Regions from separate parts of the Homo sapiens genome. Here all the other regions are linked to region 3. Evidence: promoter capture Hi-C in 16 types of primary human blood cells and fetal thymus (Javierre and others, 2016). All regions are on one chromosome and are shown on one strand. The core of a region is centred on a gene start or on the middle of the fragment in contact, and the rest is flanking DNA. Distances in the headings are between cores, read along the strand shown. Region 1 overlaps SHQ1 (SHQ1, H/ACA ribonucleoprotein assembly factor). Region 2 overlaps LOC105377161 (a long non-coding RNA gene). Region 3 holds the start of PROK2 (prokineticin 2). Region 4 holds the start of LOC124909396 (a long non-coding RNA gene). Region 5 overlaps LOC105377161 (a long non-coding RNA gene).

Region 1 (3,937 bases), core at 1,113-3,612, 970 kb after region 3:
ATTGAGTGGCTTTGAGACAAACTGGATGACGGTGAGTTTACAAGATAAATTCATTTGTAAAAGTATAGTCCATCCCATAATATCAGGAAAATGAGGCTTCATTTCAGTGGAGCTGATGGTACAATGGGAAATACCGAACAAAGATGGTATTTTAATCTGGGTGCCTGCATGTACCTGAAATGCTATTTCTCAAAGTACTCAGCACAATAATGAGATTGTGCAGGGATTGCCCCCCACCCCCCACAACCCCTGCTGCCTCTTCACATGTGTAATCAGGCCACAGAAGCACCACTGCAGTGTCCAAGGGTGAGCGGGAGGCACAGTGCGGTGAGTGGGACAAGGGCAGTCACCATCGTTGATGGGTAGCTTTCTCTTAGCCCTGGGTTTCAGTGCCAGAACTTCCAGAGCGCTTAGAGAAAGGGAGGGGTTTAGGGTAAAGAGGAAAACCAAGGTGAGATCCACTAGAGTCAGTTAATGATTCACCAAAGCATTATAACCCCTGGCTAATCTTTTATCAGTCTGAGGCATTTTTAAAAGCATAGCTATGGAATATGACGGCTGCAACATAATTTGCATTTATACCCAAGACAGTTGTAGATAATGTCCACCATATATTTTGAAACCTTGACTACCAGTGGTAAAGGATTCAGTCTGAGCTGCTGCAAAGTTCAGTCAAAGAACTAGTACACCACTCTGTTTCTCCATGAAGGGGAGTTCTCTCTGGGTAGTGACACACAACTTAAGAAATAAAGAGTAATAAATTTGGGAAAGTGGATACTGCCTCTAACTCTAATACTAGAAATAAAAAATATAAAATAAAAGCTTTTACTTTACTGACTATATATCTCATTTTAATTGTCATGACAAATACTTCTCAACAATATACAAAGGATGATGCTCCACTAACATCACTGCACTTGCTCCATTAACCACCTTGTGAATCAGTGCCATTGTTATCCCTACATTACAGATGAGGGAACTAGAGCTTGCAGGGGTAGGAGAGCCGCTGAGGTTCACTCAGCCAACAAGGGGCGGTCACGACTGGAAACCCAAGCCTCAAAACTCCAGCCCTCTTCCCGTTCCACCAAAGGGCCTCCCATGAATATACAGGCTCTGCAAAGTGTTCTTCTCTTCTTTTTCTTCTTCTTTTTTTTTTTTTTGAGATGGATTTTCACTCTCGTTGCCCAGGCTGGAGTGCAACAGCACGATCTCGGCTCACCACAACCTTCACTTCCTGGGTTCAAGAGATTCTCCTGCCTCCGCCTCCCGAGTAGCTGGAATTACAGACATGAGCCACCATGCCCGACTAATTTTATATTTTTAGTAGAGACAGGGTTTTTCCATGTTGGTCAGGCTGGTCTTGAACTCCCGACCTCAGGTGATCTGCCCGCCTAGGCCTTCCAAAGTGCTGGGATTACAGGCATGAGCCACTGCACCTGGCCAAAGTGTCCTTTCTTAAGGCCACATTCTTTACTTCTTCCTAACTTGAGCTCCACTCAGCATCTTCCAACTGAGCAAGTTCTGACTTGCACAAAGCCCAGAATCCTCCAAAGGAACTGTGACTAATATATTTAGCTTAACAATGTTAAATGAAGTATACATATAAGCATCATCTATGGAGGTTTAGAAAACAAGGGTAAAATTTGAATCATTTTTGTGAATATTGCTGAATATATTAAACATGCCAATTCTCAAGTTGATATTATTTGGATCTTTGTTATTGTCTACTATACAGATATTGTGTCCTGTCTTTTATAACAGTAGAAATGTGGAATTCCAAAGCTCCTCCCCTAGAATCCTGGCTCTTCTCAGAAAGCATACCCCACACACAGGGGGACTGAAAGTAACAAGTGTAACAGGCAGAAAAGTGGTGAAGCTGAGTCCAGGGGCCCAAACAGGAACTCCTGCCTGTAACCAGCTGATGCGAACTTTTATCCTTCAGGAAAAAGTTTTTCACTTTCGGCATTATATTATGTTTAAAATTACCAGGTTATACAATAAGTTGATGGATGGATGGATGGATGGATAGATGGATAGATGGATGGATGGATGGATGGATGGATAGATGGATGGATGATAGATAGATAGACAGATAAATTGATTTTTGATCCTTTGCCAAGCTTCATTTCTATTTTATTATCCCACCTTTAATACCTCAAGCTGGCTAGCTTCCTAAATTAATACTAAAGTTCTGAAAGAAACTTTAATAAAAGAAACATTCTGAACTCTCTCCCATTCTTAAAGAATGCTAGGATAAAAACTGATTAAAATTTCAAAATAGCATTGGTGTAGAATGTGCCCCAGTAGTCTGAGGAATTAAAGTTGGGTTTGTTTTTATTCAATTACTTAGCACAGATAACCTAGCAATCACTGTTCACAAAAAGGGAAATTATTCCTGTAGGGAAAAAAAATTAAGCCATGAAAGAGTAGCTGTTTTGTTTTTTTCAACCACTAGTACAATTAGAGTTGGTTCTAATCTGCCACTCCTTGTCAATTACACAATCTACTTTTGTAACAGACTTACCTTTTCAGAAAGCAGCTCACTTAAGGTAGGTAGTAGTTTTTCTCTGTCGTACTCAAAACTGACTAGGCTAGTTCATGTCCAAAAGCTTGGTCAAATGGCATTATTAGATAACCACTCTTACAAACATCAGGTACTATTTATTTCTTTATTTAGAGACAGGTTCTCGCTTTATTGCCTGGGCTCTGGAGTGCAGTGGTGCAATCAGCGCTCCCTGTAGCTTTGACCTCCTGGGCAAAAGTGATCCTCCCACCTCAGCCTCCTGAGTAGCTGGGACTACAGGCACATGCCACCACACCCAGCTAATTTTTATATTTTTTGTAAAGACAGGTTCTCCCTATGTTGCCCAGGCTGGTCTCCAACTCCTGGGCTCAAGTGATCCTCCCACCTTGGCTTTCCCAGAGTTCTGTGATTACAGGCATGAGCGGCAGCCCTGGGCATGGTACATTTTGATACTCTCAACAAACACATAGGCTGAGTTACTAGTTATAGTATATGTTTTTTGTTTGTCTGGTTAGGTTTTTCTTGAGACAGACTCTCACTCTGCCTTCCAGTCTGGAGTGTGGAGTGCAGTGGAGCGATCTCAGCTCACTGCAACCTCCACCTCCCTGGTTCAAGTGATTCTCCTGCATCAGCCTCCCGAGTAGCTGGGATTACAGGCATGCGCCACCACGCCCGGCTAATTTTTGTTATTTTTAGTAGAGATGGGGTTTTGCCATGTTGGCCAGGCTGGTCTCAAACTCCTGACCTCACAGTGATCCACCCACCTTGGTCTCTCAAAGTGCTGGGGATTACAGGAGTAAGCCACCATGCCTGGCTAGTTACATGTTTTATATCTAAGTGAGGATCACCTACCTGTTAAGAATATATTTATTATAGAATGAAGAGACGCTGCATTTAAAAGAGACAATTGGATACCACTGCTGTCATATTTTAATAAAACCACACTCAAAATAGATTTTTCTTAGAAAGTTACTGGAAATGTAATCCTACAATGTAACTTAAAAAAGACCTTTCATTCTTTCTGCATATGTGAAATAATATCCTATTTGGAGAATTTCTCTTTAAAGACTGCAGACAAGTTATGCTACATGTAACTACCACGAAAGAGTAATTGCAACAGCAGAAAGTACTTGCCTTTACTATGGCTAAGCTGATACAAAATTTCCTCAATTATTTTACATTTGGTGACTGTAGGAGGGGGAAAGCCTCCGCAGCCTTATGAAGCAACCAAAACAAAATGCAAAAGGAGCCTGAAATGTAGGGGCAGGGGGAACTGGGTATAAATGGAAAGCATACATCCTGTTTTTTTGCTGTAGAGTTTTGTCTCAAACTATCAATCAACTTTTCACCACTTCCTGCAATAGCAGGTCTACTATAAATCTCAGAGTAACCGACTAGGTTTCATTTCCTCTG
Region 2 (4,224 bases), core at 1,033-3,532, 910 kb after region 3:
ATGAGTGATTACAGGGGTCAGCTAGGATGGCCGGAGAAGGTTCCCCTCCATCTGTCCACCCTGAAGGCCCAATTTCCTTAAAACGCTCTGCTGGGACATTGAAACTACAGATGCCATTCAGAAACAATAAATATATATGACTCTCAGTGGTTCTCCAATGCAGCGGGCAACTTCGAAGACCTGTATGCAGGACAAGGAAAACAGCTGACTAAAGCAAGGGGCTTTCAGTGCACTATCTCTCATCCTTTCCAAGCTGATATACCATGAGGCACAGCCTTTTCAGGCACTTTTTATTGCTGTAATGTGTCAGCCTGGGTAACAGAAAGCAGGCGAGGAAGGCTTCATTATAAAAAGGAATCTTCTCATGATACTTTAATTCTATCATTTTCTTTCCTGACAAGAACTCACACACGTACACAAAAATGTGAATTTAATTTTGGGCTCTCAAAATTACTGCAAACGTGATTACTTAATCCCCCTTGGTTCAATCTTAGAATGTTGACAATTTCCTGCTAAGATTCTGGAGGCAGCAACAGAAAGTTGACAGTGTGAGTTTTGGAGATAGCCTGTCTGCCTCAGCTCTCAGCCCTCAGCAGCCAGGGGAGGGGGGTGGGAGGAGTGGGTAACTTATGCCCTGTGCCTCGGTTTCCTCATACCTAAAACGGAGAGGGCAGCAGAACCTCCCTCCCAGTGCTGCTGTGAGAGTTAAATGAGGCAAACATGAAGCAAGCTTCACACAGTGCCTGGCATTTACATACTAAGTGTTCATGCCTATTAAACATTAGCTAATTGCACATCATGATTAAAGTAGCCAAAAGAGTTCAGATATCTAAAGTCACATATACCATGTGTATAAGGGCATGTCTCTGTGTAAAAATGACCAAGTATAAATGCCTGTCGATCTTTTTTTTAATTAAAAAATTAATTTTCAGGCTGGTGTTGCTGTAAATTTAAAAATAAAAATAAAAAATAAAAAAAGTATGTATTTATTTAGAGACAGGGTCTTGCTCTGTTGCCCAGGCTGGAGTGCAGTGGTGCAATCACAGCTTACTGCAGCCTCGAACTCCTGGGCTGAAATGATCTTTCCACTTCAGCCTTCGGAGCAGCTGGGACTACAGGTGCACACCACGATGCCCAGCTTGTCAATTATTCTTAAACCTTCTAATTATTACAAAACTAATTTGCTTATTGTGAAAAAATGTTTTAAACATAGAAAAGTAGGAGGAAAAACTAAACACCACCTATCATACAACTACCTTCAGATAAATATTTTTTAACATTTTGGCCCATATACTTCCAATTGTTTTTACTGTGCATAAATATATTTAATTTTTTTCAGTAAGTACTTGCTTTTTTAATAACTTTTTTCTATTCACTAATGACATAAATGTAGTCCCCTGTCATTAAACATTTCTAGGCAGCATCATTTTTAACGGCTGTGTGGTCTTCACCTGAAGCAGGTTAGGTAGTCAAGGAAGTAACCATGTCCTCAGGACACAGCAACAGTGGGGACCTACGGTCAACACAATAAGCCCCAGCATCCTCACTGTAGTCAAGCTCATTCAAGCAAAGCTCCCTCCAGTTGGGAATCTCCCCTGTAGGGAGCATGCGCATTTTGATTTTACCTGTCCTCAGCAAAAGTCTGACCCTTTGCTTGTTATAAGCATAAAAAACACACTTCAGGCGGAGAATTTTTTTTTTTTTTTTTTTTTTTGAGATGGAGTGTCGCTCTTTTGCCCAGGCTGGAGTGCAGTGGGGCAATCTCGGCTCACTGCAACCTCCACCTATCAGGGTCAAGCAATTCTCCCTAGGATAAATTCCTAGAAATAAAGGTCAAAAGTTCTCCACATTTTTAAGCTTATATATAGGTCCACGGCATCCTTCCAAAAGGGTACATCGCTCCCACCAGTGGTGAATCAATATTCTTTTCCAGCCCTGCACATTCCTTGCTCAATTCTTTCGATGATTTTTTATTGAGCACCTACTATTTCAAGCCACTGCTAGAGATGACTAGAATAAGCCTTTTTTCTCTCTATGTTCCATCTCCAAGGATCTCCTATACTCAACTCTGAGGCTATGGCTTCAATCCAGCCCCTTCATCTCCCTATTTTACTGTCAGGGAAATGGGACTGTCTGATAAGTGGAACAGGGTTGGAGACAGAGCTCCAGTCTCTGAGACTGCAAAGGGCCCACTCCTTCTGCCCTTCAGCCAGGAATGTGGCAGTCCGAACGCCCCCTTCCTTACTGCTCTTGTGTCCTCATTGCCTTGATCTGCTTTTCTGGTCCAAGTTTTCTTCCTAAATGTTTGGCAAGAGCTTATAACCCAAACAAGAGGAAGGTTTCAACTCAAACACCAACATGGTGGTTTAGTAGTGATAACCTGGATCACTGGATTGAGGAGGATTCTGAGGCTATTTCTGAGGCCAGCTGGAGGATTGCTGTGATTGACTGGTGATGCCTGCCACAGACATAGGCATGGAGACTAATGATAAGTATGCCTGTCAATTCTGTTATTTACTCCGCTTCCAGCTTCTGCTGTCCTTAGGACAGACCCTCCTAGATTCATGTGCCTTTCTCCTGTACTTCTTTCTTTTGCTCCTTCCTTCTTCATATTCACTCCACGCACTTTCTCTTTTTGTTTCTTTACCTCACACACGTTTGTCATCTCAGTAAATCTTGTTTTCTATAGATTGCACCCTCCTTGTATGAAGCTTGCCAGGAGTGCTCACTCATGCTCTCTGCCTCTCTGCTTCTGCAGTTCATCCATTAAGTTTATCCCCCTCTGTGTTGCCAAAAGCCGTTGGTGGTAAACAACATTCCATGGGCCAGCAATTCCTTCTTGACTGACCCACCACAGGAGGGCTGTTTCCCTCAGGAAGCCCCACTGTTTAGGCAAGAGGGACCTGGCTCCCTGAGAGTCACTAGGAAACCACCCCTACAGGAAACAAAGCACATCATTTATGGTGCCTTGTTCACGTTAGAGCATTCCCTATCTGTACTTCACAAGCTCCCAGAGACTAATAAAAAGTCTGTTTTAGAATTAACTCCATGCTGCCCTAGGCCTGTGGATTGCAACAGAAAAACTTAGCCTTATAGAATTAACAGTCTTTGGGCATAGCATTACATTTCCCATAAACAGTCTTCATGTACTAAGCACTAGCTATCATCAGACATTGTGCTAAGGGCTTGAATGCCTTATCTCATTGAATTTTCCCACTAATCTGAAAGGTGGTACTGTCATTATCCCCATTTTATAGCTGAGAAAACTGAGGGGCAGGGAGTCTAAGTAACTTGCCCAAAATCAGATTCTGCTAGGGAGTGGAGAAGCTTCCAACCATGCAGGCTGCGCAGTTACACATCATATGTTAGTCAATACCATGCCTGGCTCCTTGTGTAGGGGTCATGATGTCCCACCTACCCAACAAGGAACTTAGAAATAATGGAGATAGAGTTGCCATCTGGGAGATAAACCACAGTCAGTACACAATGGATCAGATCAGCAAATTGCAAAGTGGTTCTAAAGACATATCCTGGCTCCCAGGTCTGTGAGAATAAAGATATTAGTGCATTTACAGAAAAAAATTGTGTCCATCTAATGGAGACTTGATCATCAAAAAGGGAATTCAAAGGATGTCTACCCAAGCACCACCCAGGAGAGAGGAGAGTACATCAGAGTCTTCTCTGCCTAATTGGCATATCCTTGTTACACTGTTCATTTATTAAGCTATTATTATTATTGTTTTAGAGACAGAGTCTTACTCTGTTGGCCAGCACAGTGGTGCAATCATAGCTCACTACAGCTTGAACTCCTGGACACACACAATCCTCCTACCTCAGCCTCCCAAGTAGATGGGACTACAGGCACATGTTACCACATCTGGCTAATTTTTTAAGAACTTTTTGTAGAGACAGCACCTTGCTATGTTGCCTAGGCTGGTCTCAAACTCCTGGACTTGAGTGACCCTTCCACCTCGGCCTCCCAAAGTCCAGGGATTACAGGCATGAGCCACTGCACCTATCCTATTAAACTATTATTTATGGAGCAACTACTATGTGTTAGCCCCTGCACTGGGCACTGTCCTGGTACCCACGGAGCCTGCACCCTAGGCAGGGAGGTAGAGGCAGATTTATCCTGCATCAAGACCTGGACCCCTTCCAAAAGCCCTCACAGTATGTGCATGTGTGGTCACATGGTTTTGTAGAATTTGCCCATATAAGATACCT
Region 3 (4,033 bases), core at 910-3,409:
CCCATAAATAAGATGTCTAGTCAATGATCTTTTACAATATAGTTTTAACAAATCTATGTGGGCATATAAATCAATTTCAAAATACCTACATACACTACCCAAAAAACTGTGGATGTCAGGTGAAAGTTTTAGCCAGCATTTTATTTCAACAGATGCTCAATACCTCGAATTTTGAGGCCCCATGAGCTTTTTTTTATGAACCAATCAAAAATCCAGCCAAAATCTTTTAAAATTCAATCACCTGGATGTTTAACATGCTATACACAATGTATCTTGATAAGTTACTGAGTTTTTCATTTGAATCCAGATGGTTCCTGTCATGGAGACATAACTACATTTTATTGCCCTGTTGCTTTAGAGACATTTTTAAAATTCTCTTTTTGTAACACTGAGTTAAAATAACAACAACAAAAACAGCACACATAACTATATAATAAGCCCAGTCTAAGCCTCTCTAACAGATAGACAGCCAATGTGATAAAATTTTATTTTGTAACAAAAGCTTCAGTTCTTGGAAAATTTACAAAGAGTTGCATAGGTTTATATATTTTTAATTAGACAGCTGTTTCCTAATGCCCTTCATCCTTAACCCATTGCAAATCTATTCAGATAGTGTTGTCCTGTGAATGGAACAAAAAGATACTTATATTGCAAAGGGATCTTGGGCTCAGAGGATTAGGAGAAACTTTAAATGAGCCAGCAGGAGAAGAGGGAGAAAAAAATCCAATCATGTTTCAATTCTCATGTATTAGAAAGACCTGCAAAAAGTTTTTCTCAACCACATGGACTGGCAAAGCTATGCAAGTAATTTTTTGAAAAAATCTCTTTTCTAATAAATATCACAGAGCTTACAGTTAAATATCTGTTGGATATATACAAATGCTGTCATAGCAAAAGGACTTTCAAAATTCTATAAACCTAATAACTAATATAGAGAAAATAGAGCTTGATTTTTTCAAGACAAAGATACTTCCTTTAAAGTCAAATGATATTATCTATGTATCAACATTTCAAACATAGACGTTTTATTTAAATCCCATTATGTGCACTTAAATATTTGAAGTAATTTAATGAAGGTGTGAAATAATTCCTCACTTAAAAAACAGTAAAGAAGTTGAACAACCAGGAAATGATAGCAGTTTTGCCTTGTTAATGTAAACTAGACTATTTAGTATTGTACTGCAAACCCAATTTTTTCAGATCCACACAAAATTGTTGAGAGTGGGAGAGAACTGAACTAGTTCCTACTTACAGAAAAGATGAAAACATCGTCTCTAAGTTTAAACATCTACACAGCAACCTACTCCATCATTATGCTGGAGCACTGGAGGTGCTTTGCCAGGAATTAGAAATTTAAAACTTTTATGGGGATACCTCAAGACCCTGAGCGCGGGGGAAAGCCCCGGAACCCAGAAGGAAGCTCCCACAATTGCTTTTCAAAGCGCTCACATGGCCCTGGACCAAGCGATTTCAAAGGGTTTCTGCGGAGGACGCATCGGGGAGCAAACTCTTTGACTGTAGGATTAAGACTCTGGGCACTTGGGGAATTCGTCTTGGTCCTTTGCATTTCAGGAAGGGGCCGTCAAATTTTAAGGTTCGAGGTTGGAGAGCCTCCAAAAGTACTTGAGAAGACTCAGAGAGAAACTTCTTTCAGCCTAACAGAAGAAAAATGCGAGGAGTGAGGCCGTGGGTGATGAGGGAGAAGTAAGCGGGAGAAGGTGGTAATAAAGGTGGTGGGCGACATCCTTGTCACTGTTTCTTCCAGGACGCGCCCAGTGTCCCCAGCCGTCTGCTGCTTTTGGATCTGGGTATTTTCCCAAGTGCACCAAGGGGCGACAGGGGCAGGTGTCCCCGCCCAGGGCGACCCTCCCTTTGCCTCTAGCCTGCCCTTCAGGGTCCCCGTCCCAAGCCCCCTGGGCACATCCCAGGCGCGCATCAGGGGCAGACAGGTGCGCCCGGGCCGCTTACCCCGGTGATCACGGCGGCGTCCCCAGCGCGGGGCGTGAGCAGCAGCGGCGGCAGCAGCAAGAGGAGCAGGAGTGGGGCGCAGCACAGGCTCCTCATGGCGCCCTCGGGACTGGGCGGCCGCCGGAGGCAGTTGGGGGCGCGGGGCCCGGGTGCGCTGGGTGGAGCGCGGAGCGGCGGGCGGACGGGCGCGGCGGCTCCCGCGAGCCTCCGGGCCGTTATAAAGGCTAGCCCCGCCGTGACTCACGCCGGCGCCCGCCCGGCAGCACACGCGGGGGGCACGGCGCGGGCACACACCCCACGCCCCACGCGCACACGCGCGCCCGCCTCGGCCCGGCCGGCTCCCAGACGAGCACGTGCTATGCGCGGCCCCCCGCGCCCCCGCCTCGGGCGCCACGCAGGCAGCGCTCCCGGCGGGGCGCCCCGCTCTGCGCCGTTCCCTCCGCCGTCGCCCAGCCACCGCCTTTCGCACGCGCCGGAACCGCTTTTGTGGTCTCCGAGACACTCATTTGCTGTCCTGGTTTCCAAAGCTCCACGTGCTCAGCGCCGAAAACTTGCAAATCATTTGCTGTACAGATGTTTAGGGGTCGCCTACTACGTGCGGGGCGCTGTGGACACATAGGGGGCGGGGGGTGGGTGAGGGGGACACAGCAGCCCCTGAATCCATTCGTTTGTTCAGCAGGTCTATACTGGGCGCCCGCTGCGTGCCAGGTACTGCCACCGGCTCTCTCCTCACGGTGGAATAACTTAACAGAGAAGACAGACATCAATCAAATACCCTGGAAACGTGGAAGGCAGGGGAAAGAACAAAGGGAGAGCAAAATCGCCCCAATCCCACATCACCCGCGACGTGAAAGGATTTGTCCTTCCAGCTGCGGGACTCCTATTTGTTTATTTCAAGTCAGAGGCCTTCCCTTTATGCCCACATCTGTTCCCGACCCTCTCCTCTGATTTTCCTCACATGTATTTCCTCCCCTCTTCAGCCCCGCGCCAGCTCCAGGCACAGCCGTTCAGGGTGATGCCAAAGGGAAATGAGAACGCCTGGTTTCGAGTGCCAGCCTGAGGCCCCTTAAGCCCTAGGTACGCAGCTCTCTCTTCTTTCTTAAACTTTCCAGCCCAGGAAAATCACCCTTCGGTTTTACAGATGCGATAGGGCGTTATTGTGATTCCTTCATTCACGTAAACATGAATTGAGTGTCTAGTGGGTTCCAGGCACACCAGGAAAGAATAAGTGACAGATTTGCCCTCCATCTCTCATCCTAGCCTGGCTCCAAAAACTGCAGCCTGTTTCCCTCAACAAAAATGACGTCAAGAATACCTAGATGTGACCACACCGAACTTGCTTGCCCGTTTTGGGAAACCCAACTTTCTTCCTGAATAGTCAGAACCTCTGGCTTTCCTGGTCTCTTAAGAACCGCAAACTATTGAAAAGCAGATGCGTCTTTCAGCCTCTTTAATAAATGCAGTAAGGAGAGTTGGGACAGAGTTACTTTCAGACTGTGGGGCTCCCCCGTGCCAAAGCATTCAGACGAAATGTGGGGGATAGCGGGGGGAAGGCAGGCAATTATCTGAATGTTAAACAGCTGAATATTTGGAAACCCCAATCTTTGGCTGATTTTTAAAAACCTTTTTCACACGTGTTCTCATGTTTAAAAAACGCCTTGAACAGAAAACACAAAAGGAGTCAAACCCTTTTTTCAACTTAAAAAAATGTTAAAATTGGACTCACAGTGGAGTAAGTAGAAACAGTAGCAAGTGACAGACTTGTGGAAAGTTTCCTTTTCCAGTCTCCATGCCAACGCTAGCTCGGGAATGCTGCCGGGTAAATGTAAAAACCAGTCAACATGGATTTTAACATTCCTATGACTTTCTTTTAATGGTCTATTTCATATTCGCTACTATTGAATGCCAGCTTGGGTATTCCCTGCTTCTTCAAGCATAGAAAATATGATATGTCTACACAGGAAAAATCAGATTTCAAAAGTGGCTGGCTTCTTACACAGCTGTTTGGAAAACAGTCCTCATAAGGCTGTTTTGAAACAAGTTTAAAAAAAAGAAATAAGTTTGG
Region 4 (3,933 bases), core at 220-2,719, 950 kb after region 3:
TGGGCTCAGTGGGGGCGGTTCTTCCGCTGGCCTCTGCTGTGATCATTCATGTGCCTACAGTTGGCTTCCAGCCATCCTAGCTCGAGGCTTGTTGGTCAAGAGGATGGGAAGGCTCATCTTGGCTCTATATGTCTATCATCATGTAGTGGCCCAGACTGGGACTGTTATATGGGCTTGGAGGAGCTCCAAGGGCTACTAAAGACAATACAAGTCCCACTGTGTCTACATAATGTTTGCAAACATGCTATTGGCCAAAGCAAGTCACTTGGAGTCCAGAGTCAGAGTGAGAGGGCACTGAAAGTTACATGGCAGGGGTTGTGGGTACCAAGGGGAGAAATCCAAGGTTCCAAAGTACCTGGTAAAGCCCATATATTGCTCAGAATGTGTTTGGATACAAGTAACTGAACTCTGCCCAATTCAGCTAAAGAGAGAGAGAGAGGAAGGAAGGAAGGAAGGAAGGAAGGAAGGAAGGAAGGAAGGCAGGCAGGCAGGCAGGCAGGCAGGCAGGCAGGCAGGCAGGCAGGCATTTTACTGGCTTGCATGACTGAAGGTCCAGGGTGGAAGGAGCTTTAGGGGTGGCTGGGTGCTGAGTCTCAAACAATGTCAAATGTGTCAATCTCTCTCTCTCTCTCTCTTCCTCCCTTCTTCCTTCCATGTCTGCTTTCTGGTATATGCAATTTCTTTTCCAGAAAGGTTTTCCTCACATAGATACAAAGATAATCATCCTCTGAATAATGGCTTCCTTCCAGCTTACCAACTCAGAAAAAGTATCATTTCTAGTAGCTCTGGCCAAAGCCCCAAGAGGACTTTGATTGACTAGGCTTGAGACACCTGCTTATTGCTGAACCAATCACTGTGGCCAGAAGAACAGGGTACTCTGATTGGCCAGACCTGAGCCATGGGACCACCCCTGTGGTGGGATTCGGGGTAGTATCAGCCTCATTCCTCTTGTCCCAGCTTTCTGCACAGCCTCCCCCAGGAGGGCATGGAAACCCCAGAAGCCATGGGCCAGGCATCCAAAATGCTACTGGATAGGTATTCACAAACCCCTTCTCTTAAACCAGGGATTGGCAACCTTTTTCTGTAAAGGTCCAGATGGTACAATATTCTAAGTTTTATGGACCAAGGGGCAGAATCAAGGCTATTAGGTAAGTACCTACATAACAAAAGAGAAAAGACATCTCCATAAATTCTTTTCAATCATTAAAAATTTTTTTAAAAAAATCCTCAGTTTGGGCTGGGCACGGTGGCACATGCCTGTAATCCTAGCACTTTGGGAGGCCGAGACAGATGGATCACTTGAGGTCAGGAGTTTGAAACCAGCCTGGCCAACATGGTGAAACCCCATCTATACTAAAATTACAAGAAAACTAGGCAGGAATGGTGGCAGGCACCTGTAATCCCAGCTACTTGGGAGGCTGAGGCAAGAGAATTGCTTGAACCCAGGAGGCAGAAGTTGTAGTGAGCCGAGATTGTGCCACTGCACTCCAGCCTGGGTGACAGAGTGAGACTCCGTTTCAAAAAAAAAAAAAAAAAGAAATTAAAAGATCCTCAGTTTGCAGGCTATACAAAAACAGGCAGTGGGATGGATATGGCCTCAGTGCCCTGGTTTGCTGACTCCTGCACTAATCTCTTTCCACTTTCCGAAGTGCAAAAAGCCACAGGGAAAGCAGAGTTTATACTGGGAAGGAAATCTAAGGGTACTGTAGGGTTAGGCCGGGGGTGGTGGCTCATGCCTGTAATCCTAGCACTTTGGGAGGCTGAGGTGGGTGGATTGCCTAAGCTCAGGAGTTCGAGACCAGCTGGCCTAACATAATGAAACCCCATCTCTACTAAAAATAAAAAAATAAAAATATTAGCCGGGTGTGCTGGGGTGCATCTGTAGTCCTAGCTACTCAGGAGACTGAGGCATGAGAATTGCTTGAACCCAGGAGGTAGAGGTTGCAGTGAGCTGAGATCGTGCCACTGTACTCCAGCCTGGGCGACAAAGCAAGATTCTGTCTCCCAAAAAAGAAAAAATAATAATTAATTAATTAAAAAGGTACTGTAGGGTTAAAACCACAGCCACGGAAGGGGAGAAGGAGAGGAGAGGCAGGAACCCTCTGAAGGCAGAGTCTGAAGGAGAACTGGGGAAATTTGGAAGGGGAAAGATGCATCTTTGGGGGCAGTGGCTAGGATAAGAGAGTAAGAGAATGAAAGAAAGAAAAAGAAGATTTTTACAATGCAGCTGTCCCTCAATATCTGCAAGCGATTGGTTCCAGGACCCCCAGGATACCAAAATTTGCCAATGCTCAAGTCCCTGATAAAAATTGGCATAGAAGTTGCATATAACCTATGTGCATCCTCCTATATACTTCCAGTCATCGCTAGATTACTTATAATACCTAATACAATGTAAGTGCTATGGAAATAGTTGTTACACGGTACTGTTTAGGGAATAATGACACGAAAAAAAGTCTGTGAATGTTCAGTATGGAATTATCCTTTTTATTTTTTCTGAGTGGTTTTCCACCCACAGCTGGCTGAATCCAGGAACGTGGAACCCATGGATATGGAGGGCCAGCTGTATTGGCTGTGCCTTACAAATGAAGTGCACCAGAGGCTACAATAAATATTCAATTGCTTTTCAATTACTATGGATAGTGAATTGAGTTCTCCCTTTTTCTTAATGTGACACAATGCTGATCTGGGCCCACAAGTGGATGTGTCTTTCCGTGGGTTGCCCCCCAATTCCCCAGCTCTGCTAACCCTCCCGTGTTCAGCCACCCTGAGCAATCTTGTTCCCTCACCCACCACATCTCTCCACCTGAGACATGAACACCCCACCCTAACGTCCCTCTGCTCATCCAACTCCTGTTCATCCTTTCTTTGGGAGATCTTCCATGGCTCCCTGGGTGACCCCTACTCACTGAGTCCTTAGTTCCCACTGCACCCTGTGCCCAACCTGGGAAAAGCCTGAGCTCTCTCGGGTTCCTCGCTTTAAAATGGGATCACTTGCCTGCCCCTGCTGAAAACGAGGCAAGGTAGAAGAAAGCCCTTTGCAATCTGTAAAGGGCTAGCTAGGCACCTGAGGGCTGTTATTGGCATTTGGTTCCAGGAAGGCCCTGTTTTTGATCGTCTTCTCTGTTCCATCCTCTCCAGGTGAAGCTTCAATGTGCCCCGAGAGCCAGGTATCCGCAGAAACAGAAATACTGTGTTATTGGCAGGAATTAGATAAGCTTGTGAATTTAGGGATCTGCTTCGCGCCAATTTCATCAGCTTGGGGATGGGGGTGGGATGGGAGTGGGCAATCTGACTCTTCTAGGACAGCCTCCTCGTATTCCAGGTTATTGTTTCCCCATCCCAGGAAATCCTGCGGGTGCCTTCCCCCAACGAAAGCCACTGATGTCGCCCCTCTCCTCCCAGCAGCTTCCAGACCGCGACCTTCTGTAGCTCTGCTCAGAACTTCACCTGGAACAGCTTCTTACAATTCTTAAACAGCCCCTCAGTCGACTGTGATTAAGCATACACTCCAGCCTCAGCAAGCTTGGCGTCTGCCCCTGCCGCTGGGAGACCCTCCTCCAGGCACCTGCCCTGGGCCCCGCCCCGCCCGGTCCGCGCGCACGCGCAGTGGCCCCACCCCGCCCCGCCCCGCGACGCCCGAGGACCCGACGGAGCTACACCCGCTAGTTCAGCCAGGAGGCCCTGCGCGGCTCCGGGGAGAGCTGGGTGGTTATGCCACCTCATTAGACACATTGGTGGACGATGCCGCGGATTAGCGGGTTGGCTCTCAGGGCGGGGCGCAGGCTTTCTCACTGATCCGGGAGCGTGGGAGCAGGGGCAACGCGGGGCCATCCGGGAGCTGCCCGCCTGCTTCGCAGTTGGCTTTCCGGGCCCTCGAGCAACGTCTGACTTTGCCCTTTGTTTTTAAACACCATGCAGGATGGTTTGTGT
Region 5 (3,942 bases), core at 332-2,831, 880 kb after region 3:
TATTTAACATCCAAATACTGGTCTGCTGAGTGCGCTGATGTTATCGGCCTAACCCGTGGGCATCTGTGTTTGTGATTCCTGGTGTTCAGCTCTGAAAGCTCTTGTTAAAACTCAGAAGTCATTACCCCCTGATTTTGAATGAGGTTCTGAGATTAGCGAGATGGCCATCTGGCAGCACGCTGAGAGAAAAAGTGGGAAGACACATACGTTTCAGTTGGAGGGAGGAAGGACCAAAGGAAATCTTATCACTGGGGCCAGGCCAGGGAGCTCAAGGTGGCATCAGAGGAGGGGGCCTCAAGGGAGGTGAGAGCAGAAACCTGATCTTTCTGTGATCTTGTGAAAGTCCCTTCCCCCATAGTGTCTGCAGGGCTTTGGCGGGTACACACCCTCCATTAGAGCATAGCTCTCCTTCTATTGACACAATAGAAGGTGCGTCTATTGTGCGTCTTCTAGGTGCGTCTCTCCTGGCTATGCAAGAATACCTGGAGGGCAGAAGCTATACCTTATTCTACTTTTTACACCCAATGGCTGGCAGAGAGCTCGCCACATAGTAGATGCCCAATAAAGGTTTGTCTTGAATTTTTGCTGGCCAGTGTGACCCTAGAGTGAGCCAATCAGAATTACTATGTAAGCCAGGGGGCGCTGTGGTTCAGTGTTCATTTCTCAACTGGGGCGCTGAAAAGTTTTTTTTGGCTGTATGCTGCAGTGATTAATATTGCACTAGCTGGCACCATGTCACTTAGGAGACAGTGGCATGGGATCTTCGAAAAACTAGCTATCTCTTACCTGGTTTGCAATCAGCCCATATAAGAATGGGGGCTCTGGAATCAGCCTGCCTAGGTTCAAATCCCAATTTCCTTACTTACTAGCTGTGTGCCCTTGGACAAGTCATTTAACCTCTCTGTGCCGCCATTAAAAAAATGAGAATCTAATGAGCTAGTGCATGTAAAGTATTTTGCACCATACCTGCACAGAAAAAGTGCTTAAAGCATGTTAGCTTTTTTTTTTTTTTTTTCCTGAGACAGGGTCTCACTCTGTCGCCCAGACTGGAGTGCAGTGGTGCAATCTCGGCTCACTGCAACCTCCACCTCCAATCAAGCTATTCTCCTGCCTCAGCCTCCCGAGTAGCTGGGATTACAGGCACATGCCACTACCACCTGGCTAATTTTTGTATCTTTAGTAGAGACAGGGTTTCACCATGTTGGCCAGGCTGGTCTTGAACCCCTAATCTCAAATGATCCACCCGCCTCCTAGGCCTCCCAAAGTGCTGGGATTACAGATGTGAGCCACCGTGCTCAGCCAGCATGTTAGCTATTTTGGCTTTGGTTGGAAACAACAGGATCCTGATAAAAAGAAAGCCAGAGTAGAAAAGAATCTAGAAAGATATGCACCAAAATATTAATCAATTATATGACAGTGATCATTTTTTATTGTTTCTTTTCTGCTTATTTGTGATTGCTGATTTGGTTTTCTTTACAATAAAGTTATATGACCTCTATAAGCTTACTCTAAGAGTAATAAAGAAGAGAAGGAAAGCTGGACTGCAGTGGGTTTTCTGTGCCATTCCCCACTAGCACTGCAAGGAAATTGTAGAATCTAGGCTCCCCTGAAAACGCCACACAAACCAGCTTTGCCTGTGCCTTCTGGAATTCCCACACCAAGAAGCTTCCATTCTGTCTCTGATATGGTTTAGCTGTGTCCCCACCCAAATTCGTCTTGAATCTTAGCTCCCATAATCTCCACATGTCATGGGAGGGACATGGTGGGAGGTAACTGAATCATGGGGGTGGCTTTTTCCTCTGCTGTTCTCAAGATAGTGAATAAGTCTCATGAGATGTGATGGTTTTATAAAGGGCAGTTCCCCTGCACACGCTCTCTTGCCTGTCGCCATGTAAGATGTGCCTTTGCTCTTCCTTCACTTTCCACCATGATTGTGAGGACCCCCCAGCCATGTGGAACTGTGAGTCCATTAAACCTCTTTTTCTTTATAAATTACCCAGTCTCGGGTATTTCTTCATTGCAGCATGAAAATGGACTAATATAGCCTTCACATCAACAGAGAAAGGGAACTTGAACATAAGTTTTCTGTGTTCTTGGTGGCCTGTGGGGTCCCAAGGATTCACATTGCAAGGCCATTTGGCATCCACACTCCACACAAAGCAAGTTCATCAGTTCCGTCCAATACCTTCCTCATGGCCAGCCACAGGGTAGATTCAGGCTGCTCTTGGCCCCAACACCTCTCTCTTGGGGTTCACAGTATAGTAAGGAGCTGGCACAGGCACTTCTGTTAGCAGGTAGGAGGTATGCATTCATTCATTCATTTGGTGACTATTTAATGAGACTTTTATGTGCCAGCCCCTGAATGAGGAATGGGGCTATTGCGAGGCTCTAGTGGGCTAATGCTCAGCCATCAGCTACAGGATCACATGTGGGTGGGCTTCTGCTGCCCTTCAGGTCCATGCTCTGCCCTTCTCCACCCTGCTTTGTGCCCAGAAGTCTGACTGGCGAGCGCTATGTTAACGTGCCTTCTTGCCTCTGGCATCCTGTTGGTTGGACCAGTTGAACAGCCCTGGCAGGAAAGTGGAGGGAGGGAGAAGGTTGAGGCTGGGGTACTTATCCCCCTGGTACCTTCCCTGACTTCTGCTGGACCTGTCCCTCCACCAGAAGTCACTGATCGTCTCACAGCAGCCTTCCGTATGGGACCCATCCTCCCATTTCTAGTATCTGCTCCCTCCTGCTGTCCCCTCCTGGCCTAGAAACATGGCTACTGTGGGAGACTGCACCTTCCCTACTCTTCCCCCACACCAGGCTCCTTTGTAAATCAGCCCTCCTGGAAGTATCCTTATATGAGGGGGCATTGGTCTCAGTTGGGACACTCCCCAATGGTTACTATTTACCCCCATTCTACAGATGAGGAAACTGAGGCTCAAAAAGGTACCTCACCCAAGGACACTCGGGAGGAGAGGAGGCAGCACTGGAACCCAGGAGGGCTCGATCAGTGTGATGAGCAAATTGTTCAAGGCCTGGAGGGGTCCCTTTGGGATCTGGGACTTGATCCCTCCTCAGGTGCCTTTCCTGTCTTGGTGCTCCTCCTCTTGCTTGGAAGGGACTGTGGGAAGGATGAGGGTTTGCCAGGAGAGTATCAGGGAGCAATACTGGCTCTTATGAGGGGCTCACATATTACCTGGGCTTTTCTCACCATCAGAGTAAAACCAAGTTCACAGCCAAGCTTAGGCGCCTGCCCAGGGCCAAAAGTCACAAGGTTCATCTGTCTGCTTTGGGTCCGAGGCCAGCCTAGTCTGGGAACTCTCCCTCGGGGACCTCGTGGGGCTGAGAGAGGCCAAACGTCTTCCTCCCATGGATCCCCCTCCCCACTTCGTGGGTTTAACTTTGTCCAGGTCCTCCCCACTATTCAGGAATGCAATCTGAAAAACCAATTCAAACTAGGACTCATGGTATTCACCCATTCCCCCCACACCCACACAAGTGAGTGCACATACACACAATCAATCACACGACTCTGCATTTTAAGCAAGATCCTATTGCAATGCTTAACCCAAAACAATAGTGGGATTTCAGGCACTAGGTAAGCAAGAGATTCTTCCAATCTTACCACAAACGTGTGAATGACCACTCCACCTACTCCAAACCATGGTGACTTTAAGAATGAAAGGGAGCAATGTGAATAATGAAGTCCAGACAGCTGGAGTAAAAGGGACTGTCCCAGGCAAACCATGACATGGAGTCCCTCTGCCTATGGGTGACAGGAAGTTGAAGATGACTTTTCCTTTAGTCCTAGCATTGTGGCCTAAGCCCCAAGCTAGACATTAGGCACAAAGAGCCCACATGCTCCAAAGCACAGTTTCTGATCTTTTCTTGTGCCATGAATCCTGTTGGTATCAGTGAAGCAATCGATCCCTTTTCAAACTAATGGTTTTAAAT

What was found. The method cuts DNA at HindIII sites, captures the fragments that hold promoters and counts their contacts. A CHiCAGO score of 5 or more calls a contact.
Region 1: a contact is called between a fragment that was not itself captured here and the fragment with the promoter of PROK2 in region 3, in 1 of 17 cell types (total B cells). The highest score is 5.0, in total B cells.
Region 2: a fragment that was not itself captured here is called in contact with the fragment with the promoter of PROK2 in region 3 in 1 of 17 cell types (naive B cells); the score reaches 6.0 in naive B cells.
Region 4: a contact is called between a fragment that was not itself captured here and the fragment with the promoter of PROK2 in region 3, in 1 of 17 cell types (naive B cells). The highest score is 5.6, in naive B cells.
Region 5: a fragment that was not itself captured here is called in contact with the fragment with the promoter of PROK2 in region 3 in 1 of 17 cell types (naive B cells); the score reaches 6.0 in naive B cells.

What each region holds. Positions count from the first base shown.
Region 1 is chr3:72,753,239-72,757,175 of GRCh38, forward strand. All of the region lies in intron 10 of SHQ1 (SHQ1, H/ACA ribonucleoprotein assembly factor), which reads right to left. Among named protein-coding and RNA genes, the nearest start is that of SHQ1, 93 kb to the right of the region's middle. The HindIII fragment of the contact is 489 bases long and covers 2,119-2,607 here.
Region 2 is chr3:72,695,471-72,699,694 of GRCh38, forward strand. All of the region lies in intron 2 of LOC105377161 (a long non-coding RNA gene), which reads right to left. Among named protein-coding and RNA genes, the nearest start is that of SHQ1, 150 kb to the right of the region's middle. The HindIII fragment of the contact is 854 bases long and covers 1,856-2,709 here.
Region 3 is chr3:71,782,989-71,787,021 of GRCh38, forward strand. It overlaps PROK2 (prokineticin 2), which reads right to left and starts at 2,160. Exons shown (of 4, transcript NM_001126128.2): 1 at 1,969-2,160. The coding sequence starts at 2,064. It overlaps LOC105377156 (a long non-coding RNA gene), which reads left to right and starts at 2,402. Exons shown (of 4, transcript NR_199161.1): 1 at 2,402-2,535; 2 at 2,648-2,759; 3 at 2,949-3,045; 4 at 3,229-3,439. The HindIII fragment of the contact is 4,477 bases long and covers 501-4,033 here.
Region 4 is chr3:72,735,274-72,739,206 of GRCh38, forward strand. It overlaps LOC124909396 (a long non-coding RNA gene), which reads left to right and starts at 3,633. Exons shown (of 2, transcript XR_007095963.1): 1 at 3,633-3,761. It also overlaps a transcript of SHQ1 not described here. The HindIII fragment of the contact is 3,351 bases long and covers 1-3,145 here.
Region 5 is chr3:72,665,706-72,669,647 of GRCh38, forward strand. All of the region lies in intron 5 of LOC105377161 (a long non-coding RNA gene), which reads right to left. Among named protein-coding and RNA genes, the nearest start is that of SHQ1, 180 kb to the right of the region's middle. The HindIII fragment of the contact is 163 bases long and covers 1,501-1,663 here.